Regions from separate parts of the Homo sapiens genome. Here region 1 is linked to region 2. Evidence: promoter capture Hi-C in 16 types of primary human blood cells and fetal thymus (Javierre and others, 2016). All regions are on one chromosome and are shown on one strand. The core of a region is centred on a gene start or on the middle of the fragment in contact, and the rest is flanking DNA. Distances in the headings are between cores, read along the strand shown. Region 1 overlaps TSEN2 (tRNA splicing endonuclease subunit 2). Region 2 holds the start of ATG7 (autophagy related 7).

Region 1 (4,900 bases), core at 2,401-4,900, 1.2 Mb before region 2:
TCTGTACCTAGGCTCAGAAAACTTAGTGGTCTGTGGGAAGAAATAGAGTATTTATAAAGCAATAAACTAAAAGCAGTAAGAACAGTTTGTGTGAGCAATGTAAATCATATTGACCTAGAATACTGCAATTAATCCCCACAATAAACCCCAGGAAATGAGTGGTAATCTTTCTACTCCAGCTGACAACGCTGAGACCTAGTGACATGCCCAAAGCTGCAATGTTAGGTCTCCTGAGAGCAAGCACAACAGGATTTCTGTCTACCAGGAGTGCTTCCATTTCACTCACCCAACAGACATTTACTACCAGGAATTCCTAATAATCATAGGTGCTGGGGAGACAAAGACAAAACTGAGACCCTGTCCTCAACAAATTAAATCTTGCAGGCACTTCATTTTCCAAGAGGATCTTACAATACACACTAAACATTGGGTCAATCAGCTCCCAATTTTTAAAGTACATTAATAAATAATAATGACAGCAGCAGTTATTTAAGGGTCGATTATATACTACCAAATGCTACTGGCTTCAAGCAGGGACTCTAAAGCCAGACTATCAGCATCAGAATCAACTTTACCACTTCCTAGCAGTGTGATTTTGGGCAAAAGTCACTGACTCTCTCTGTGATTTAGTTTCCTCACCTGCAAAATCAAGATAAGAACGACTCTATCTTACAGTTAAGATCCATAAAGTGCTTAGAACAGTACCTGGCACATAGCGTGTACCATTCATGTATCAGCTATAATTAGTATTACAGGGTGAGCAGTAGCAACACCATTTTACAAATAGGAAACAGATTCAGGTTAGAGAGATTTGTAGACGACCCCGAGTGTGGTGGCATCGGGTGACCCAGGTCTGTTGAACTCCCAAGCCCATGCCCTCTCTCTAGATTCTGCTGAAAGCACAGGCAGGGTCTATCTACTTTTGTCTGATGACTCTTTCTCAAAATCAGACGGTGAAGGGTTATTGAGCAGTAACGGAATTACCCACTGTGCACCCAGCACCATGAGGGAGAACAGAAAGCCAAAGCCAGTACGTGTCCCTCTGGGGCCATACATTGGATCCAAGGAGACAAAACAAGTATATAACATAGCTGGAAGCACAGAAAGCAGGTTGGAGCTAACGGAACTGGCTGTTATCCACTAATGTCTAAAGGAGGGAAGTAAATGTGAACATATTGTGTGATGCAGACACAGAGATACAGTAGATGCACTTAACCTAGGAAAACGTAACCATATACATGGGAAAACAATGTAAATGGTGCAAGACATTCCACTCGAGGAGCAGCTGTCCTGGAATGAGATGGGAAACTTGAATCTGCTGCTCCCCCAGTACTAGGTCTAGACTTGATTTCAACTGAGAGCTTACCTGGTGCTTGAAGATACAGTGCGGCCAAATCATACACACGTTTAACCTACATGACTCCGAATCCTCACAAGGGAAAAAATAAGACTAATTACTTAGGTGGCTCCTGCACTCAGTACTTGCATCCCATTGGCAAGGGATGCCATCAAGCCTGAAACAGTCAAGAAGGTGGCCAAAACTGAGGGAGGGGAAGGTGAGTGGCTTTAAGAGTGTCATGACCATTAAGAAAAGGCTTATCCAACGTGTGATGATATCAGTATCCAACTTCTCAAGGAAGAAGCTGAGGAATTATATGAGGACACAGAAAAACACAGACTAAAGAGGAGTTAGAGGAAATGATACATCAATTACAAAGATAACCATGAAAAAGAAGAATCGGGAAGTTGGAACCTTCCTAGAATTGCCATTGTTCTAAGCAGCAACATGCTAGATTAATTTCTAAATAAGGTTCCTTGAAGGAATTACATACTGAGCATTACTTTGTACATTTTATATTTATGCATGCATCTTGCTGTATAGTGTTTATAACAAAACCACGTCTACTGCATGCTCACAGGAAACCTAAGAGATTTTCTTAAGAGCATATTTAGACTAGGCTTTACCTTGCTTGCTGACTTATCCCTCAGCCCAAGTACTAAATTATCACATTTAGTACTCAATTGGAGAGACAATAATTTATTCTAAAACTGAAAATAAACACTGCTTTTTGGGGGCAGGATGTTGGTCTCTAGTAAGGCACTTTTTGAAAGACTTCCAGGAATGGTTTGGACTTTTATGGGATTTTTCACTTTTATAACCTCTGCTCAGCAGCTGACTTATATACATTACATTCGGAATTTTAAAAAAATGAAAAAAGATTTAATGGCCACCTTCAAGAAGTTCTAATAAATTCTCTCAACAAATAAGAGTTGTATTTTAGTCTGCCTCATTTGTTCAGCGTTTTTCCCTCTCAGACTGCTGTCACATCTAAAAAAGGCAAGATTTAGCTGTGACACTTGATCGAAAGAACTCTGTACTCCAACCCAGGTGTGTGGGATGGAAGGGTCCCTGCGACAAAACACCCCTCATAATCCAAGTTCTTGTGTTACTCTTGCTCATGTGGCTGCACACCCCTCAGGAATTTGGCTCGCAGTAGGCCTTCCAGACATGCAAAGCCGCCATTATTATTGTGTGACCTTGCACAACCCACTTTCTCTAAGCCCAGTTTCATCTTCAAATCGAACAGGACTGGAGGAGTCTGGCAGTTCCTCAAAATGTCAAACACATAGTTACGACATGATCCAGCAACTCCACCCCTAGGTATAGACCTAAGAGAAATGAAAACATATGTTCATGGAAAAATTTGTATGTGAATGTTCACAACAGTATTATTCATAATAGCATCAAAGTGGAAGCCATCCAAATGTCCATCAATAGTTGACCAGATCAACAAAATGTGGTCTATCCATATAATCAAATACTTAGCCATAGAAAAGGAATGAAGTTCGGATACATTCTTCAACACCTGAAAGCATTATGCTAAAAGAAGTCAGACACAAAAGACCACGAGACAATTAAGATAAAGTTTCCGGAATAGACAAATCCATAGAGACAGATTACCAGTTGCCAGAGACAGGGAAAAGTGGGAAATGGGGGGGCGACTGCTAATAAGACAGGAGGTTTATTTTGGAGGGTGACGAAAATGTTTTAAAATTAGATTGTAGTGATGGTAATGGTTACATAACTCCGCGAATACGAAGACCACTGACTCGTACATTTCAGAAGGGTGACTTTTACAGAATTATATGGTATCTCAATAAAGCTATTTTAAAAAATTCAGAAGTAAAGACATTCCCCAGGCCATGTCCTGCAAGAATGACTTCACAGATACCAGCGTGAAGCTTCTAGAAAAGATAGAAAGAAACCCTCAGGGAAGGTAGAGCTCACTTCCCCAGGGGGAAAAATTCAAGAGGACAAATCAGATGATCTCTAGTTTCATGGAAGAGTCCTCCTGTGCTGAACTCGAAAGGCAAAGCAGAGGAGAAAAGACTGCATTTACCATTCCCCATATCTGCAATGGATATTCAAGAAGGTTCTTTAGTGTCGCGGCAGAACAGCATGCTGTAAGAGGTGGGATGTGAGTAAAATAAGAAGAGGAAACTGTCATAGGTAGGTACCAGATGCCAGAGGCACTCACTGCATGTGCTGCACATGTGGGTACTATAGTCATCCCTTGGTATCCACAGAAGGACTGGTTCCAGGACTCACCCCCTACCAAAATCCGCAGCTCAAGTCCCTTAAATAAAATGTAGTATTTGCATGTAACTTATGCCCATCCTCCCATCTACTTTAAGTCTTCTCTAGATTACTTAGAATACCTAATACAATGTAAATACTAAATAATTGTTATATATATATATTTTTAAATTTCTTTTTCCAAATATTTTTGATGCAACATTGGTTGAATCCACAGATTCGGAACCTGATAGCGAGAGCTGACTGTACTATCCTCATTCCACAGATATGAAAGAAGAGCGGTGCCTGAGGTGCACAAAAACATATAGGAAAGACTGGGTCAGTTGTCAAGAGGTTTGGGATGCAAAGGTTGGTTTGGAATTGGAGTCACTGCAGGTTATTTAGAATGATGATTGAAAAATGCAGATTAAGAAAATTAAACCTGGGAGTGGTACATCACACAGTGGCCCTCAAGCTTACCTACCCTTAACTCCTCATGCCCAGGCCTCACCTGCAATCAATTACATCAGAATTTCCTGGGTGGACCCAGCTGATTTTAACATATAGCTAACCACTGGTAACAGCAAGGTCTATTCAAATTCACTTAATCCCAGTAGCCCCCGGAGGTAAAGACTATTTTTATTTCCATTGTACAGATGTGGAAAGTGACTCGGAGGGGCCGGGCGCACCCCTGAGAAATCTTTACTTCTTATTTCCCCAACCTGCGCAACCTGACTCCAGAGCTGCATATTCTTACTTTCTATTAAAAGCAGAGTCTGTTTCTTATTCTTCCCTCGAGCACACAGGCTAACACCTCTTAGGTGATGGTAAATGTCTATTAGAAAAACAAAAAAGGGAGAGGTGGCTCCATTTAATTTTCCAACCTTCCTGGACTAGGTGCCAAACAAACCTGGTTAAAAAACCTCCTACCCAGCAAATCTCACCTTCTCCCAACCAAAACACGCTTCAAGCTCCATCTGCGCACCTCCTGGGCTTAGGGAGGCAAGGATGAAAGGCACAAGGTAAACAATCCTGCCTCTGGGGAGCTTTCAAGTTAGAACCTGAGAATAAGCCATATAAACAGATGACCAGCCTTTGAAAGTTGTTGTCAGGATTAAATGCATAATTTTGCAGAAGGCGTTTCGTTCGGGGCCTACCACGTGGAAAGCGCTCACCAGACGACAGCTGCAAATAAAATAAACTGCGCACCCCAACAGCGTTAGGGGCCCCGCCAATTCCTAACTCCCTGTCTTACCCCTTTGCTTCTTTCCTTGACTACCCCCACACCCGACCGAACTCCACCAGAGGCTGCGGCTCCTCTCG
Region 2 (4,255 bases), core at 1,260-3,759:
TTCAGTGTCCTGCTCTCCACCCCCGCCCCCACATTTTAGAGTCCAAACTTCTGGGCCTGGCAATATTAATGACTACTGTTTATTGAGTATTTATCATCTACCAGTGTCAAGTGAGTAACATATCACCTCGTACAGTTTTTATTTCCCCTTCTTAGAGATGAGGAAACTGAAGCTTAGAAAGAAGTGACTTGCCCAGGGTCACAAAACTAGTTCAGTGGCAATGGGAATATTGGTACGCAGCTATCTTGGATCCCAAAGTCTATGTGCGGGTAACATGCTATTGTCCACAGGGCCCTTCACGATGTGGCTAGTGCTTACCTTTCCAGTCACCTCTCATCCTACACCTCCACACTGGCACTCCAGTGAACCACAAGCAGGCCATGCATTCTCACCTCTAGCCCTTTGCTCATCTCACTTCGAACCACTCTTCACCTGTCAGATCTCGTTCGTCCTTCAGGTCTTGGCTAAAGCAGCACCTCCTCACTGAAACCTTCTCTGATGAGTCAGCCTGACTTATGCGTACCCTAAGTCCTCCTCTACCAAACCTCCGCAATAGCTTCATGCCATACCGTTGCTATCTCCTTGGCTTAAAAAAAAAGTAAACTCTTTGAGGACAGGGATGTGTATCTTACTCATTTTTGTATTCCCAGCTTGCAGCGCAGTGCCAGACACACAGCTGAAGCTCAATAAATGTTTATTCTCTATAATGAGATGCTGGCTGGGAACGAAAAACGGAACCTGTGGTTGAGTAATGGAAAGTCCAGTACTCAGCTCTTAAAGGATTTCAAAATCATGTCACATGAGGGCAGGAAGGAGTTGGCCAAGATAAATGGAAGAGGAAGGGGAGATGTTCGAAGCAGCAGAAGCAAAGGGCTATAGGTGACACACACCTGCAAGCAGCTTAACAAGACTGGAGCAGCGTTGGGGGATGGGAAAGCAGTTTAGCAACATGAGCCATTCCAAGACTGGACTTTTCTTTATTCAAGTGTTAGGTCACTTCCTCAGGGAAGCCATCCCTGACTAGCTAGCTTTTATGCTTCCCCCCAATTACTGTCCATCCCATGACCCTGTACGTTTCAGAATCGGAAACACCTACCAACCCTTACTGACAATGCCGCCACCGCCACCACCACCACTATTATTAGAAGGTGCCATGAAACAGGGTTCTTTTTCTTCTTATTTTACTGATAGATCACCAGTGCCCACAATAATGCCAGGCACATAACAGGCAAATATTTGTTTTATTCATTCATCCAACAAATATTTATTGAGCATATATAATATGCTAGGCATTGCTCTATATGCTGGGGATATAACAAAACATGACAAAATTTGCTGTCACTGTTAAGTTTACTATGAGCAAATACATTAAATATGCTTAGCCTAGAGAAGAAAAGGTGAGAAGAGGAAGACAAACTAGCAGCTTTCAATGATGTATAGGGCAATTAAATGCAGGGGTGATTCCAAGAGCCTGAAGGAGGAACAGTGAGCTAAGATTACCGAGTAGCTGCTTTCAGCTCAACCTAAGAGTCAGAACTGGGGGAGGACCAAACAGGAGCAACCAGAAGTAGAAAGCTTTCTGTCACTGAAGAAATCTGGCCAGTGGGCAGAGGTGTCAGAGAAAAAAATCTAAGTAGTCAATGAAAAAGGGAGTCTGGGATCCAGAGGTCCCAAACTGACAGCCACAGATATGACTGGTTACAGTTGAACAGGGTTTTGTAAAAACTGAGTTGCCAATGTTTTTAAACGCCAGAATTACTTGCCAATTTTTAAAAAATGGCATCAGTCGCCAGTGTTTAAAAATCAGGAAACTGCACGCACGTGCACACACACACGGTTTGGCTTGTACTTCTCCAACATCATGTACGTTAGTACTGTACTTATAAAATTAGAAGTTTGACTCTATTTCTGACAAATGTTCTAACACCTATATTTACCTTACCGGATTGATTCTTATTGTGCATTAGTTTCTAACCCTGTAACCAAGGAATCGAGAATCTTCTTTCTCAGAAAGTAAACTTATTTAACCTCCTCACTTAAACAAATGGCGGATTATCATTCCCATTTTGCAGATGGAAAAGCAGCTTAGATGGGGAAGGAACGTGCCAGAGACAGCAAATCCAGACACAGCCAGGCTGGGAATCCAAATGTCCCATCTCCCGTGTTCCAACACTGAAGATTCTGAGCACTGCCTACCAAGAGGACAGGAGGGGCTGACTTAGGAAATCAGCACGAGCTTCCAAGTCAGAAGACCCCGGACTGAACCAGTCTGAGGGGACGCGGCTACAGACGAAGGGCGCCAGCCGGAATCAGTGAGTCCCTGGAGGAGGAAGGACCACCCAGAAACTGGCAGAGGAGGATCCTGAGACTTGCTGTGACCCTCGCCCTCCCTGGCGAGCTCGCCCCTTGACTCCAGGCCTCCAAAACCGGCCCAGCAAGACCCCACTACACCCTCGCCCGCCGCGGCTCACTTACCGCCGCTCAACTTCCGGCAACCACAGCTCTCTCTGAGGCGCGCGCCCCGATGACGCAACGCGGTCCTGCCCGCGCTTGCCACTGGGAAGCGGCGCGCGTGCGCAAAGGAGCAGAGGCATGCCGGGGAAATGCGCCCCTAGCACCGAGCTAAGTGGGAGGAACTTGAGTCGTGAGGAGGGCGGGGCATCAGGGGGCGGTGACGCCCCCGGGGGAAGCGATGGAGAGCGTCTCCCTTACCAGATGTCGGAATGTCTACATTCCCTTCAGGCTTTTAAGAAAGTGCCCACGTTCTCTCTTTTGATTTCAGAGGATGACAGGAATGATCACCATGGTCATTCTCCAGGAGAGGCGGCATCAAACGCAGCACAGGGGCCATCAGGGTGGCAGGTGTGGAGAGCCAGGAGATGAGAATTTTAGTAGGAAAAGGCCAGTGAACGTCGACAGTGACCAACCTGCCTTTTCTAAACCAGCCATCATTCTCACAGCTCCTCACTGTCAGTGAGATAAAGTTATTCCCTCTCAATACTTGGTTAGATACTCTGCGCGTGCAAAGCACTGGACAGGTGTTGAAGATACAGCAGTGATTATGACAAGTTTCTCTGTCTGGCCTGTAAGGCCTTTCACAAATTAACTCTGATATACCACTCTAGACTCATAACAACAAGAGCGATGACTGCTATTAATTAACTAGCCACCATGTTTTCAGGGTTTTACATCTCTAATCCTCACAAGAGTCCTGAAACATATCCCCAAGTTATATATGAAAGAACAGAATCTAAGAAAAGTTAGGTGGCTTGCTGAAAGTTAAAGGGCTTTTGGGCCAGGAACGTAATCTGAAGTTTGTTTGATTCTGGCAAATAAGAAAACAAATCCAGACTAATAAGGATACTTATTAGAAAGGATTACTGCAGGCCCGGCGCGGTGGCTCACGCCTGTAATCACAGCACTTTGGGAGGCCGAGGCGGGCGGATCACGAGGTCAGGAGATCGAGACCATCCCGGCTAAAACGGTGAAACCCCGTCTCTACTAAAAATACAAAAAAATTAGCCGGGCGTGGTGGCGGGCGCCTGTAGTCCCAGCTACTTGGGAGGCTGAGGCAGGAGAATGGCGTGAACCCGGGAGGCGGAGCTTGCAGTGAGCCGAGATCCCACCACTGCACTCCAGCCTGGGCGACAGAGCGAGACTCCGTCTCAAAAAAAAAAAAAAAGAAAGGATTACTGCAAGAAGTGAGAGAGGTGGGAGAGAAGGAACCGTGCAATAGCAGAGGGAGACTATTGCAATAGTGAGATCACTCTGACCAAAACATCCGCAGATGTTTCAATGGTTAGGGAAAAAGAGGGTTCCCCCACCCCCCACCCTCCCCAAAGGCAGGTAAACAAGGCTGGAAACAACCGAATATGGGAAGTGGGATGAAGGGGTGGCTTGATCAGATAGTAGATTAGAGAATGTTTTATCTTGAGGCCAACCTATTCTCAGTAGGGGTTGTGTGTGTCAGTCTCTGAGCCCAAGCTAAGCCATCATATCCCCAGTGACCTGCACGTATACATCCAGATGGCTTGCAGCAACTGAAGATCCGCAGAAGTGAAAATAGCCTTAACTGATGACATTCCACCATTGTGATTTGTTTCTGCCCCACCCTAACTGATCAATGTACTTTGTAATCTCCCCCACCCTTAAGAAGGTTCTTTTATAGTCTCCCCCACCCTTAAGAAGTTTCTTTGTAATTCTCACCACCCTTGAGAATGTACTTTGTGAGATCCACCCCCTACCCCCAAAACAT

Evidence for each region. Contacts are between HindIII fragments. The CHiCAGO score rates a contact against its expected background, and 5 or more counts as called.
Region 1: a fragment that was not itself captured here is called in contact with the fragment with the promoter of ATG7 in region 2 in 2 of 17 cell types (fetal thymus and non-activated CD4 T cells); the score reaches 8.0 in fetal thymus.

The regions. Positions count from the first base shown.
Region 1 is chr3:12,484,813-12,489,712 of GRCh38, reverse strand. TSEN2 (tRNA splicing endonuclease subunit 2) reads right to left here. Exons shown (of 12, transcript NM_025265.4): 1 at 4,833-4,900. Among named protein-coding and RNA genes, the nearest start is that of TSEN2, 2.8 kb to the right of the region's middle. RefSeq lists an enhancer at 4,890-4,900. The HindIII fragment of the contact is 809 bases long and covers 3,246-4,054 here.
Region 2 is chr3:11,270,651-11,274,905 of GRCh38, reverse strand. ATG7 (autophagy related 7) reads right to left here and starts at 2,509. Exons shown (of 21, transcript NM_001349232.2): 1 at 2,476-2,509. RefSeq lists enhancers at 1,724-2,313, 2,462-2,591, 2,314-2,905, 2,862-2,911. The HindIII fragment of the contact is 2,908 bases long and covers 1,578-4,255 here.